Linked DNA regions of Homo sapiens: region 1 is linked to region 2. The links are contacts of gene promoters, found by promoter capture Hi-C in human tissues and cell types (Jung and others, 2019). All regions are on one chromosome and are shown on one strand. Each heading gives the region's core, a stretch centred on a gene start or on the middle of the fragment in contact. The rest is flanking DNA. Distances are from core to core; before and after follow the strand shown.

Evidence for each region. Contacts are between HindIII fragments. The study calls those that stand out against the background at their distance.
Region 1: a contact is called between a fragment that was not itself captured here and the fragment with the promoter of SYT14 in region 2, in 1 of the 25 tissues and cell types used here (thymus).

What each region holds. Positions count from the first base shown.
Region 1 is chr1:210,133,685-210,136,755 of GRCh38, reverse strand. The region is part of intron 6 of SYT14 (synaptotagmin 14); the gene reads right to left. Among named protein-coding and RNA genes, the nearest start is that of SERTAD4, 98 kb to the left of the region's middle. The HindIII fragment of the contact is 5,371 bases long and covers 1-3,071 here.
Region 2 is chr1:209,936,903-209,939,748 of GRCh38, reverse strand. SYT14 (synaptotagmin 14) reads right to left here and starts at 1,532. Exons shown (of 9, transcript NM_001146262.4): 1 at 1,472-1,532. The coding sequence starts at 1,484. RefSeq lists a silencer at 1,791-2,085. The HindIII fragment of the contact is 7,833 bases long and covers 1-2,846 here.

The DNA.
Region 1 (3,071 bases), core at 437-2,936, 200 kb before region 2:
CAGAGGCTACGGTGAGGTCTTCGCCAAAGTTACTAAGTAAAACAGGTGCTAACTACACCTCTTTTTTCTAACATAATTTGCCCACTCAACTGCTCTCATAACACCATGCTTTGACTGGACCTTCAGTGCTTGACACTATACTTTTTGTTCATCAGCCCCTTCTTGTCCTTACTTCTTCCTCTATCAAGCTGGCATTCCAAGCTGCCAAAACGCTAACCTTGGAAGAACCAATTAACTCCTTGATTGTACTAGGAAAAGCATCACACAATGGGATGAATTGGAACTTTGGCCATCATCTGGCTATACTTACAATCTAGTTATACTTCTCGGGTAAATTTATTTTTCCATTTCCCCAATTATTATAAATCTTCCATTTTCTAAAATCAGCTGACCCAGTTCCATTCTCCTAAAATCACTGACCCCGTTCCCTTTCTCCTTACTCATTCCTGCCTCCTGCTTCTCTCTCTCTCACATACACATGCACGCATACACACACACCTCTCAATATGTGGAAACTTCCTCAACTTCCTGTGAAAATATCTACAAACTTTCTGACATCTGGATTCTCTCCTTCTTTCTTACCATTGTAAGAGGAGGCATCCCTTGTATTTCAGACCAATTTCTCCACCTGCTGTCTGGATCCTATTTTCTACAGGCTTCTTGTCTCACATCCTAAATATCAGGCTTCAGTGAATTTGTCTCAGCCATATTTAAATATGCTTAAGTCTCACTCATAGTTTAAAAATTCATTTTGAATCCCAAACTACCTATGGCCAAGGAAAGAAGTGCTGGAAGGAATCAAGCAGAACAATCCCCACAACTCACATAGGCCTGAGAATAATTCACATTCTGAACAAAGTGTAGAAAACATAATATATGGGGCACTGAGTTGAGTACTTAGAAGGAAATTGCCTGAGTAGTGGGGTCAAATTAGCCCTAGAATAAACAATGTCTAGTTTTCTATAGCAAAACTTAAAAGCAAGCCTCAAAAGGATCAAAATGTTTTCAAGTTGCCTGATTGCATCCAAGAACAAAGCTCAAAAGTAAGAGAAAACAAAATAATTTAGCACCCAACAATGTATAATCCACAATATCTGGGATCCATTAAAAATTATCAAGCATGAAAAGAAGAAGGAAAATAAAACCCATATTAAGGAAAAAAAGTCAATTGATAAAAACTGATCCAGAAACTAAACAGATGATAGAATTTGTAGACATGGACCTTAAAACAGCGATTATAAATATGTCCCATGGTTCAAGACAATAGAAGAAAACATGGGCTTGTTAAGAAGAGACACAGACTATATAAAATAGACCAAAATTTAACTTATAGAGGCTGAAAAATCTATCTGAGATGAGAAATACACTGGACTGGATTACCAACATAGACATTGCACAGGACAAGATCAATGAACCCAAAGATACAGCAATAGAAGGTCTAAAATCAAACCACAGAGGAAAAAAAAGACAGGGAAGCCAGGTGCGGTGGCTCATGCCTGTAATCCCAGCATCTTGGGAGGGTGAGGCCAGTGGATCACTTGAGGCCAGGAATTTGAGACCAAACTGGCCAACATGGCAAAACCCTGTCTCTACTAAAAATACAAAAAATTAGCCAGGTGTGGTGGTGCATGCTTGTAATCCTAGGTACTCGGGAGGCTGAGGTAGAAGAATCACTTCAACCCGGGAGGTGGAGGTTGCAATGAGCTGAGATTGTGCCACTGTATTCCAGCCTGGGTGACAGAGTGAGACTCTGTTTTTGAAAAAAAAAAAGACAGGGAAAAAAATTAAGAACACAAAAATTAAGAACACAGCATCGGTGAGTTGGGACAACTTCAAAGGGTCTCATATATATGTATCAGAGTTTCAGAAAGGGGTTATGTGGCCAGAATTAATATTTGAAGAAGTACTGGCAAAAGGTTCCCTTTAATTAAAACTACAAATCCAAACCTTTGAGAAACTCAATGAACCCAGATCGACAGGATGAGATTTGTATGATGAGGTTATGGCTCCTAGCTTTATCAACAGTTTTACAGTGGTACTGTAAAATGATTTAGGAAATGGAGGAGGAGGAAAAGCATGTTTAGGGGTAGGGGCAGAAAGGAGTTCATTATTGTATATGGTGAGTTTAAGGACAAAAGTATGAAGCTTTAAAGGTATACTGTATGTGAAAACACTCTGTAAACAGTTGAAGTGTTTTACAAATGATTTAAGTATGTGTTCAACTAAGGCAAGAAACTCAGGGCTCTATTTCATTAATACTAATGATGATGCTAAGCTTAAAACTGTAAAACTTAGATACAGATGTTCAAATAAATAAGAGTAATGCATAGTTAAGAGCAAGATAATCAAAACAGGGTGTGGTGGCTCACACCTGTAATCCCAGCACTTTGGGAGGCTGAAGCGGGTGGATTGCTTGAGCCCAGGAGTTCAAGATGAGCCCTGGCAACATAGTGAGACTCCTGTCTCTACAAAAAAAATTTTAAAAATTAGCCAGGTGTGGTGGCATGCACCTGTGGTCTCAGCTACTCAGGAGGCTGAGGTGGGAGGATCGCTTGAGCCTGGGAGGTTGAGGCTGCAGTGAGCCACGATTGCACCACTGCCTTCCAGCCTGGGTGACAGAGCAAGACCTTGTCTCCAGCCTGGGTGACAGAATGAGACTGCATCTCAAAAATAAATAAATAAATAAATAAAAATCAACAACAACAAAACCTAACCAATCAAATTGTAACTATGTGCCAACCCTTACATGAATAATGTTGTAATCCTGCCAAAAGCTCCTCTGTCTCTGCCTATACAAATGAAACTTTAGCTTCCCTACTTTGGAATGCCAACTCCATTCCTATGGAGTTGGTGTTTCTGAGTGGTCCATCCCCACACTTTACACTTGAATAAGCTCTCCAAAAAAAAAAAAAAAAGAGTAAATAAGATAATCAGCTGTGACTAAGACATCTTTTGGGCTAGGTTCTCAAAAATAAACAACCAGACAGTTGCCAAAAAAACATCAAAATTAGTACTCAGCTCTAGGATTCTTACAAATTTTTATTCACCTCCACCTTGCACAAGAAGCAAAA
Region 2 (2,846 bases), core at 283-2,782:
GGTAGTGTGGTAGTGTGGTAGAGTTTCACGGCTTCACAAGAAACTCTACCACAAACTAGTTGGGAAAATAAAGTACACAACATAAATCAGTGGGTTTGGTTTCTTGATTTTTAACCTTTGGTAAAAGGACAGTGAGGGAAACAAATGTTGAAAGTACTGCTGCAGATAACAGGAACATCATAGATTATAGGTAGATCTTATTCCCCACCATTTTAACTCAAGCAGACATTTGAAACTGTCTGAATGTGTCTTGCATACAATAGGTACTCCCTCTCTTAAATAAATAAGCTACATGTAAACACACAGCTAACTCTACTTTGGAGTCCACATGATCCGACAAAAAGAAGTCCCCAGAGATGCATACTACCAGTGATTGATCACTTAGAAGGGAAACGCTTTAAAAAGTTTTACTTAGGAACACACTTTCAATGTAGAGAAATAATGATATAGCTATAGGTACCTTGCACAGCTGCACAGATGAATATACACACACAGGGAAAATTTACAAATTACTTTCACTGTTTGAGTTAATCTAAGAGACAGGGCCTGGAAGATGTAATCTTTCACATAAATATCCTAGACGTGTGAAATTAATTCTCACAATCTCTTCCTTAAAAACAAGGCAAAATATAGACACTTGGTCCCAGTTACATGTTTCTGGAACAAGAGAAAAATACACTTTAGTGTCAACTACCTTATCTAGGAACTTAATTTTTATTAAGCTGTTTTTCGAAATATGAGCATTGTGGCACTATAACACTTCATAGACTGGTATTTGCAGGATTCTAAGAATGTGTGCTTGTTGTAAAGACGTTATTTACTTCTTTTCATGGAGAAAAACAGTTTTGAGTGTTGGCGGGGAACAAAACCACTTGAGGAGGAAATTAACCTAACCCCAAATTTCCTGGACCCCCTACAACAGCAAACAGAAGGGGAACGGGCAGAGAGTGTAACCCAGCATCAGCCCGAGCGGGCACAGGGAAGGGTTAGGAATGGGACAAAAAACTGGACTCTCAGTTTGGCAGGAAGGTGGGTATTGCGGAAGGATGGTTTGCCGCGGCCGGGGAAAGAAAAGAAAGGGCAGCCTGAGCCCCCCGTGGCCCCTCGCTCCTCCCAGCCCGTCCCGTGGGGTCTGCAGGGCCTCACCCCGACCTCCACTCCGCGCGGCCGGCAGGAGGCGGCGGCCCGGACGCTGTACCTGCCCGCCAGCCCGCTTTGCCCCGCGTGCGGCCGCCGGGAGGCCGGCAAAACCACGAAGGCCGGGGCGAGCGAGCCAGTCGGGCCCGGCGTCCCAGCGGCGCCGCTCCGCCCACCCGCCTCCCGAGACGCGGCCAGGACCCCCGCGCGTCTTCAGCCGGCTCCAGACCACAGGAGGCGGCCCCGTCAGCGCCTCGGCCTGCCGGCGCACCTCCGAGCCCCCCGCCAGCTGGGTGGTCCCGGTCCTCGCTCCCCGCTGTCAGCCTCCACTTACCTTCAATCGCCATGATGCGCTCGCCATGGACCGCACCAACTGGATGGCGGGGGCAGCAGACGCGAGGGCTGGCGGAGGACGCGCTGAGTCCGCCAGCGAGAGGGGCGGGGCCCGGCCCGGAGTCGCCCGGCTGTGCGGCCGCGAGGGGCGCCGCGGGCGGGGCGAGGGAGGGGCCCCGAGCGCCGCGAGTGCGGGCCGCGGAAGAAATGGAACCTTCCCGGGGCCGCCGCTGGCACGTGACGCCACCCCGCCCCCACCCCAACCTACCCCACCCCACCCCACCGCCCCACCGCGCCTCGCGCCTCGATTCGAAACAGGTGCCCGGCCCGGAGAGCCACGGGCCCGCGCCCGAGACCCGCCCGAAGCGCGCCGAGCTCGTGTGGGGGCCCAAGCCCAAGCTTCCTGGCGCCGGGCGCCCTCCCGTCCGGTACTTGGAGCAAACGGTGTCCATGAAGGAGGCGAGTGGCAAATGATGTGGTCAGGACCATGGACAGGTCTCCTTGGTTGAAAAGGATTCCCACCCACTGACTCTCAGATTTGGTAATAGTAAGTCTGTTTTGGTTTCGTTTGGTTTTATTTTGTTTTGTTTTGCCCGAATCAGCCACATACTCGTCTCAGATCTCCGCTGTGGAGAAACAGCTAGTTGGCAAAAAGCAAAAAGGAGAGAGGAATCCTGAGCACAGCAGTGGTCTCTCTCTCTCTCTCTCTCTCTCTCTCTCACACACACACACACACACACACTCACTTCACCCCTTAGCCTCGCTCTTGATAAGCCTTGCTGCCACACAGAGCTTGGCTTACCTCTTGGAACTCTGAGTTGGAATTTGTCTACACATTGCAAACGCACATTTGAAGCCACACAAAAGTCAGGGTCAGACGGACGTTTTGACAAAGGACCTGGAAAGCATGTCACACGCAGGTTTTTAAAAATTTGTAAACCTGTGACCATTGTGAACAGTCCCAGGCCAACCCTGAGCACAACAACAATTGGCCACTTAGTTTTTACTTAAGATACTTGAACCGCTCAACCATTTACCCAACTCTCAACTTCATTTAGTAATTTGAGAACCTGGACAATCAACGGCATAAACAACATTGAGAAATAGGGAGTTTAGTGATTCTCTCTTGTGGAGGAAATGCTAATTCCTAGAGCAAAATAGCTATATTAGGGACTGAAACAAAGAAGAAAATATTTTACACTTATGTAAGTAAGGTTGGACTGTAAATCTAGAGCAGAAACTGTCTTCCATTGCTTTTATATAACCTCTCCCTCAGTCGCATTTTATGCTCAATAGACATTCATCCTTTACCATTTTCTTTAGTTCAGTGAGTATCTGTGAAGCCGGCACTGTGCTGAAAACTGGCTACAAGCAAG